Regions from separate parts of the Homo sapiens genome. Here region 1 is linked to region 2. Evidence: promoter capture Hi-C in human tissues and cell types (Jung and others, 2019). All regions are on one chromosome and are shown on one strand. The core of a region is centred on a gene start or on the middle of the fragment in contact, and the rest is flanking DNA. Distances in the headings are between cores, read along the strand shown. Region 1 overlaps LOC105375536 (a long non-coding RNA gene). Region 2 holds the start of AGK (acylglycerol kinase).

The links. Contacts are between HindIII fragments. The study calls those that stand out against the background at their distance.
Region 1: a contact is called between a fragment that was not itself captured here and the fragment with the promoter of AGK in region 2, in 1 of the 25 tissues and cell types used here (dorsolateral prefrontal cortex).

The regions. Positions count from the first base shown.
Region 1 is chr7:140,992,217-140,996,434 of GRCh38, reverse strand. LOC105375536 (a long non-coding RNA gene) reads right to left here. Exons shown (of 5, transcript XR_002956518.2): 5 at 2,664-2,702. The region is part of intron 1 of LOC107986720 (a long non-coding RNA gene); the gene reads left to right. Among named protein-coding and RNA genes, the nearest start is that of MRPS33, 21 kb to the left of the region's middle. The HindIII fragment of the contact is 6,404 bases long and covers 1-4,218 here.
Region 2 is chr7:141,549,516-141,553,546 of GRCh38, reverse strand. AGK (acylglycerol kinase) reads right to left here and starts at 2,137. Exons shown (of 16, transcript NM_018238.4): 1 at 2,113-2,137. AGK-DT (AGK divergent transcript) reads left to right here and starts at 2,203. Exons shown (of 6, transcript NR_183408.1): 1 at 2,203-2,403. RefSeq lists silencers at 1,893-2,072, 2,253-2,342. The HindIII fragment of the contact is 6,047 bases long and covers 1-4,031 here.

The sequences.
Region 1 (4,218 bases), core at 980-3,479, 560 kb after region 2:
GACTCCAAAATGCAAGTCGTAGACCTTGTTTTCTTTTTTTTTTTTTTTTTCTGGGGATTGAGTCTTGCTCTGTCACTCAGGCTGGAGTGCAGTGGCACGATCTCGGCTCACTGCAAGCTCCGCCTCCTGGGCCCACACCGTTCTCCTGCCTCAGCCTCCCAAGTAGCTGGGACTACAGGTGCCTGCCACCACGCCCAGCTAATTTTTTTTTTTTTTTTTTTTTGTATTTTTAGTAGAGACGGGGGTTTCACCATGTTAGCCAGGATGGTCTCGATCTTCTGACCTCGTGATCTGCCCTCCTCGGCCTCCCAAAGTGTTGGGATTACAGGCGTGAGCCACCACGCCTGGCTGACCTTGTTTTCTAAATACTATTCTCCAACAAAAGAAATTGTGGTTCCTTGGAAAAATAGTGGATTCCAGAGTTGGGAGAGGTTAAGACACAAATTATGCTAAAAAGTGATGAAGTGCCCCCCCATAAAAAAAAGGATGGGGATCTTGTCGAAAGGGCACGAGAGCCAAACTGAAAGAGCCCCCTATGGCCAAGGCTGAAACAATTTGAGCAACAAAATAAATAAGAATACTACTGGATTAAGCATAGTACTATATTATGATAGTACTAGATTAAAACCCAATGGTTAAATAAAAATCTTTGAGTCCATACAGTATAAATAAATTGAGGAGAAGGTACTTTACTTTACAGAAGAATTCCAATTGTAAAATGTAAGGAATAAGGAAATAGAAAATCTCGGTTAGAATATCGCAGTAATAATAACTGCAAGCAGTATCCACTGATGGATGCTAAAACTGATGGGCAAAAGTTTAAGGAGAAGCAGGATATTTGTATGCTCTCAAAGTATCCCCCCCACAAAAAATATTATTTACAAAGAGAAAAGTAGTAACTTTACGGTGGAAAAAAATTTCTTAGTTTTGATAATTATACTCTGGTTATAAGATGTTAACATTAAGGGAAGTTGGGTGAAGAATATACAGGAATTCTCTGTATATTTTTGCAACTTTTTGGTAAGTCTAAAATTTTATTTAAAATTTTTTGAATTGTACTTTCAAAAAGCTTTTTTGGCTGGGCACAGTGGTTCATGCCTGTAATCCCAGCACTTTGGGAGGCCGAGGCAGGTGGATCACCTGAGGCCAGGAGTTCGAGACCAGCCTGGCCAACATGGTGAGACCCTGTCTCTACTAAAAATACAAAAATTAGCTGAACGTGGTGCACACCTGTAGTCCCAGCTACTTGGGAGGCTGAGGCAAGAGAATCGCTTGAACCCAGGAGGCAGAGGTTTCAGTGAGCTGAGAACACACCATTGCACTCCAGCCTGGGCAATAAAGCGAGACTCCATCTCAAAAAAAAAAAAAAAGTTTGTTTTTTTTAAATATGTTTCAGGAAAAAAAAATTGACACAGGGTCTTGTTCTATCACCCAGTCCGGAGGTCAGTGGTGCAATCATGGCTCAATGGCAGCCTCAACCTCCTGGGCTCAAGCAATCCTCCCACCTCAGCCTCTCAAATACCTGGCACTACAGGTGCATGCCACCACACCCAGCTAATTCTTTTACTTTTTGTGGAGCCAGGGTCTCATTATATTGCCCATGTTGGTATTTAAGACTATTTTAAGACAACATAGGCCAAACACAGTGACTCACGCCTGTTATCCCAGCACTTTGGGAGCACTGTGGGAGGATCACTTGAGCCCATGAATTGGAGACCAGCCTGGGAAACAAAGTGAGACCCCGTCTCCACAAGAAAATTAAAAATTAGCTGGGCATGTTAGTGTGTGCCTGTGATTCCAGCTACTCAGGAGACTGACGTGGGAGGATCGCTTGAGCCTGGGAGGTTGAGGCTGCAGTGAACTGTGTTTGGGCCACCGTACTCTAGGCTGGGCAACAGAGATCCTGTCTCAAAAAATTTTTTAAAAATGAATATACGAGTTCATGTATAGAATGCTGTCAGTTATCAAAAGAAAAATGCAAATGAACAAAAAGACTGGAGGAACTATGCCCAAATATTAACATTTGTTGCTTATGAGAGATGAGACTATGGTTGGTTTTCTTTTCTACACTTTCTGAATTTTCCGTCACGAATGCTTACCATTTCATAATAATATGCAAAAAAAAAAACCAAAAAACGTTAAAAGAGCTAAAGGAGGGCGGGGCATGGTGGATTATGCCTGTAATCCTAGCACTTTGGGAGGCCAAGGCAGGTGGATTGCTTGAGCTCAGGAGTTTGAGACCAGCCTGGGCAATATGGTGAAACCCCGTCTCTAGAAAAAAAATACAAACATTACCTGGGTGTGGTGGTGCATGCCTGTAGTTTCAACTACTTGTTGGGGCTGAGGCAGGAGGATTGCTTAAACCTGGGAGGTCGAAGCTGCAATGGGCCAATATCACACCACTGCACTCCAGCCTGGGGGACAAGGTGAGATTCTTATTCAAGAAAAAAGACAAGGCCATGCATGGTGGCTCACACCTGTAATCCCAGCACTTTGTGAGGCCAAGGCAAGAGAATCTCTTGAGTCCAGGAGTTTGAGACCAGCCTGGGCAACATAGGGAGACCCTATCATTACAAAATAAACAAATTAGCCAGGCATAGTGGTACGTACCTGTGATTTCAGCTATTCAAGAGGCTGAGGTGGGAGATCACTTGAGCCTGGGAGGTCGAGGCTGCACTCCAGCCTGGGTGATCGAGCAAGACCTTGACTCAAAAAAAAAAAAAAAGTTGAAGAAAAAGCAAGAGGGACAAAAATGGGAAGAGAGAACATTCCAGGGTGAGGACATAACATGAGGACACAAATGTGGCATTGGAAGATGGCATAGACTTAAAAAGAGTAAGGCTGGGCACAGTGGCTCATGCCTGTAATCCCAGCACTTTGGGAGGCCAAGGCGGGCAGATCACGAGGTCAGGAGATCGAAACCATCCTGGCTAACACGATGAAACCCCGTCTTTACTAAAAATACAAAAAAATTAGCCAGGCGTGGTGGCAGGCCCCTGTAGTCCCAGCTACTCAGGAGGCTGAGGCAGGAGAATGGCGTGAACCAGGGAGGCGGAGCTTGCAGTGAGCTGAGACCGTGCCACTGCACTCCAGCCTGGGCGACAGAGTGAGACTCAGTCTCAAAAAAAAAGAAAGAAAGAATAAGATGTTCGCTATAGCTAGAGCATAAGTGGCATTTTGGGGAAGATTTGAGAGAGAGAGAGAGAAAGAGAGAGAGATCAGGCTGGTGAGATAGGGCCTTGTGGGCCATTGTGAATTTTGGCTTTACCCTCAGATAATGGGGAACTATTAAAGGGACATGGCAGGGTAATGATGTCAGATCCATAGTTTAGAGAGTTTCCTCGGGCAGCCAAACGGACGGTGGACTAAAATAGACTAAAAAAGGTGGAAGGAGGTAAGTCAGGAGAGCACCAGGGTGGTCCATATGACAAATAAGGAGAGATTGATTTGATCAGGGACAGTGGGAATGGTGAAAAAGATCCTTTTAGGTTGGACCCAGGACCAGGAGGACCAGCAAGAGCTATAAGTGCTCCCACGCCAGTCAGTTTCATTTATATTTCCAGGGAAAATGGCCCATATCAGACTCCTAGAAGGCTGGTGCCCTCAGGATTTTAGAGTTAATCCCAGAGCCAGATAAATGGCCAGCCAGACCAGGGCAACAAGTCTGATGGGCGATGTAGGGGCTGGGTCACTCTGGGTCTCCAACCACAACTTGACAGGTCAGCTGGGCAACAGTGGAGCAGAACCCAGGAAGAGCCAGGCCCTCGGGCAGTGTGTAAATCCCACACAGGGATACAGGAACCCAGAGGCAGAGTGATCCCTGAGAGATAAGAGGTCCACCTTTGCCAACAAGGGGCTGGAGCTCTCGGTAAACAAGCAGCTCTGCTGCTGTGAGGCAAATGGCCCTGGGTGCTCTCTGTAGCTGGTTCACAGGCAGTTCAATTCTGGATGGAGAGGCTGGCATAAGTATGCCATAAGTATGGCATAAGTAGAAGAGAAAAAAAAGATGACAAAGTCATTACCACATTAAAAATCAAAAGTGGATACATTGAGTTAGACTTAAGGGAAAGTAAAGATTAACTGACACAAATTTGATTATACACAGCCTTTTAAAAATACCCCTATGATGTAAAAATTGAGGTTTGTCTATTTTGTGTTTTCTCTGCTTTGGATCTCTTCCCTTCTTTGCCCGTAGCTTGTGGTGGGAGACCAGCAGGG
Region 2 (4,031 bases), core at 888-3,387:
CACAATGCTAACACAATTATACAATTATGATTGCAGTACAGTGGGATAAATGTCGAGGAGTCAGCACAAGGCTTTGTGAGAGTCTGCAAGAATGAACCTAACCTGGTCTAGGGCTGAGGGGGTGGTGCACAGTCAATGAAGTCTTCCCTGAGCCTTGAATAATGAGGAGGAAATCACTAAAGTAACGAAGGAGTTTTGTGGATGCTATTGTCTGAATGCTGTGTTCCCCAAAAATGGTGATGTGGAAGCCCTATCCCCATTGAGATGGTATTAGGAGATAGAGCCTTCGGGAGATAATTGGGTCATAAGAGTGGCTCCCATGAAAGGGATTAGTGTCCTTATGAGACTAGACACTACAGAGATGGTCTCTCTGCATTGTGAGGATACAGCAAGAAGACAGATCTCTACAAACCGAGGAAGAGAGCTATCACCATGCACTCAACCATGCTGGCACCTTAACTTTGGACTTCCAGCCTCCGGAACTGTGAGAATTAAATTTCTGTTGTTTAAGCCACCCAGTTTTTGCTATTTTTTTTTTACAGTAGCCCAAACTGAGAGTGTACAAAGGCATAAAAGACAGTAAAGTGTGTTGAGAGAAACATACGTAGATAGTTGAGGGGAGAATTAGGTTCATGGCTGAGACTGGAAAAAGGGGGTATGATCTAACAGTAATACGCTGGGGAGAATTTAGCAAGGCCTATTTGTTCTGATTCTTCTCTGTGTACCTGTGTCTTCAAAGATAAGGGCATTCCTTTCCTCGATCCTATACTTACAGGATGAGCACCTCTCACTGAAGGGTCTTATACAGAAGAAGGTCAAACAATTCTTTTATGGCCTGCTTCAGGGGAGAAAAGTGGGAAGACACAAAGTGACTTTCCTGCTTCAGTTGTTTCCTCTAATGCCAACGAGTCATATTTTGCGGCAGTGTGTCCTGAATCTCATCAACAGCGGAGTAAAAATTGGAGTGTCTAGAACAGGGGTTCTCAACCTTTAGTGCAGAACTTGTTAAAAACACAGAATCCTGGGAACTGCCCCTTCCCGCAAGAGTCTCATTTGTTCTGGAATTAAGCTGTCATCTTCACTTGTTAACAAGTACTCCCATGTTGGTTGCAATGGAGGTCACCACTATACCAGACTTTGAGAAACAGTGGTTTAGAGATAAAGGATTGAAGACCAGGTGGGATTAGAAAAGACCTTGAACCCACACTAAGGACTTTGGCTATTATTTTGAAGACAATGAAAAACCTTTAATGGGCTTTAAGCAGGTGAGTGATATAATCATATTTGAACTGTTAAAAGACCACTTTATAGCAGAATGAAAAATGAACTGGAAGAAGCTAAAATTAAAGCTAAAGAGAACCATTAGGAAGTTATTGCCATAATCTGTAGGCTCCTAAAAGAACAAACCAAGATAAAGGATGGATTTGGAAAGCTTTAGAAAGTAGAAATTGGCAGCAGTTGGTGGTCCATTGACTGTAGTAAGTGAGAGAGGAGGAACCAAGCCAGGTTTTTGTGCTTGGGTGACTGGTTGAATAGTGATTTCAGTCATTTAGATTTGAGTGGTAGGTTTGTGGAGAAAAGTAGTGCGGTTTAGGAGATACTGAATTTGACACGCCTGTGGAGTATCCAGGTGGAAATGTTTTTCTTACTAGATAGTGAACCCCTCATGGGCAAGTTCGTCTATCCATCTGCAGCACCAGAACCTAGTAAAGCGCCAGAATGAATGAACCAACCAACCCATCAATGGATCTGATACTATTGGCCCCATTTTGCAAAGGGCTATGCTGAAGCCCAAGGGACGAAGTGAGGGGGGTCCACAAGTTAGCGACAGCTCTGGGACTCGAACCCAGGACAGCTGACTCCCGCCGTGACCACGGGATCCGCGCGAGGCCCTCCCCTGCCGCGCCGGCCAGGCCCGCACCCCCTACCCTCAAGCCGCGCCGCCGCCTGCACCCACGACCCCTGATGCTTGGGTCCCCGCGGCTCTCGGCCCAGCGCGACTCCAGAGGCTCCGCCCAGCGCCCCGGGCCCCCATCCCGACTCCCACCCCGCTCGCGCGCTCAGTCCCAGCGACCCGCACTGCGCTCCCCGCCTGGGCGCCGCTGCACTCACCACGGCTGGTCCAGCTCGCGGCTCTGCCTTTCCTGTGTGCTCCCTCCAGATTCCCCGGCTCGTTCAAGGGAAACCGCTGCCGCCGCCCTCGGGTTCCGCCGCGGGGCTGCGAGCGCGCGCGGGCCAGTTCGGGCCGGGGGCGGGAACCGGCTCGGATGCTCAGGGACGGTGGGGGTGGCAGGGCCCACCGGCTTGAGGCTGCCTTTCCCGGCGTTCCCTCGTTTATTGGCTCACTCTTCCTTTCATCCATCCATCCTTTGCGCAACAATATTTGATGGGAAGCCTGCCAAGGTAACACTGTTTTAGCACCTGGAACTAAGTCGGAAAATAAATTAACTAAATGAACAAGGCCATTGGAGATGGTGCTCCGTGCCACGAAGAAAATGAAACGAGGTGATGGAAGGCAGTGCGGGAAGGGGGAGAACTGTGTGAAATTAGGCGGCCTGCGCTAGGCCTTCTGAGTAAGGGGCCATTGGTCTGAGACCTGGATGTCAAGAAGGAGCAGCTGAAGCAAAGATCCAGGGGAGAGAGCCTGGAGAGGGAAGGGCCCGTGCAAAAGCTGAAAAGCCTGGGGCACTCTGGCGAGTTGCAGGCCAGTGTGGGTGAGACAGAGAGAGCTAAGGAGACAGGCCAAGCGAGGAAGCTGGAGAGGTGGAGACAGGCCACGGCGGCCAGGAGTTTGGACATGACATTAAACAGGGCGAGAAGACATTGCGGGGGTGCAATCAGGGGCTGGTGGGACTGGTTTCCATTTCACACAGCTCTCTGGCCACAGGTGCTTGATTGGATTCTAGAGAACAAGAGAGCAACGGAGAAGCTAGGCCAATGCCAACCTCCAGACAGTTTACATTCTGTACTCGCCCACCAGATTGGTGTGGGGACAAAGCCAGGTCCTTCTTCTTTCCAGCATTCAGTCTGCCAACTTTTTTTTTTTTTTAGACAGGGTCTCACTCTGTGGCTCAGGCGCTAGTGCAGTGGTGCAATCTCAGCTCACTGCAGCCTCTGCTTCCCGGGTTCAAGCAATTCTTGTGCCTCAGCCTCCCGAGTAACTGGGATTACAGGTGTGTGCCACCAGGCCCAGCTAAATTTTTTTGTATTTTTAGTAAAGACGGGGGTTTTGTCACGTTGGCCAGGCTGGTCTCGAACTCCTGACCTCAAGCGATCTGCCCGCCTTGGCCTCCCAAAGTGCTACGATTATAGGCATGAGCCATCGCACCCGGCCAGTCAACCAACATTTGAGTGTGCACTAGGCCCTGCATCAGGCACTGGGGGTATGCTCAGGTACAAGGCCCTTCATGGTTCCTGCCCCATGGAGCTTGCTATCTAGTCTGCACATTTCCTACGTGTAGACATGCATCCTACCTATGTCTCCCTAGGTGAATGCTTCAAAAAAAAAAGGCCGGGGCGGGGACCTTCAATGAGGCTATGGTGCAGTAAACATATTCCTTATGCCAGGGTGCACCAATCCATTGGGCCACACTGTTTAGTAGCAAGAAATTTCTAGCCCTCTCTCCTGAGTCTCCATCTGTAAACTAGGGGACTGAGAACATTACTATTAAAAAAAAACCCTTCTAGCTCTAAAATGTTGTCATAGGGTATGGAAGACCATTATTTTCAGTTCCTCTTTTCCAACTATCTAAAGCGTTTGTGTTTGGAAATAAGCTTCTGAACTGCTCACCTGCAGGCTAGAAAAATCTGAGACTTGATTTTGATGTTCCAAGGGTCAGACTCAGCGTATGCTTTAGGGCTTCAGCATGAAAGTGGTTCCCCAAATAAGAAAAGGTCAGCTTTGATGAAGGATGAAGAAGGATGGAAATATAGGAGATTAAGGGAATCTGAATACACACCTGCAGGCAGATGTGTAGGTTGGAGTTTTGGAGACCTATACCAATTCTACTCTCTTCCAAATACCATTTTAC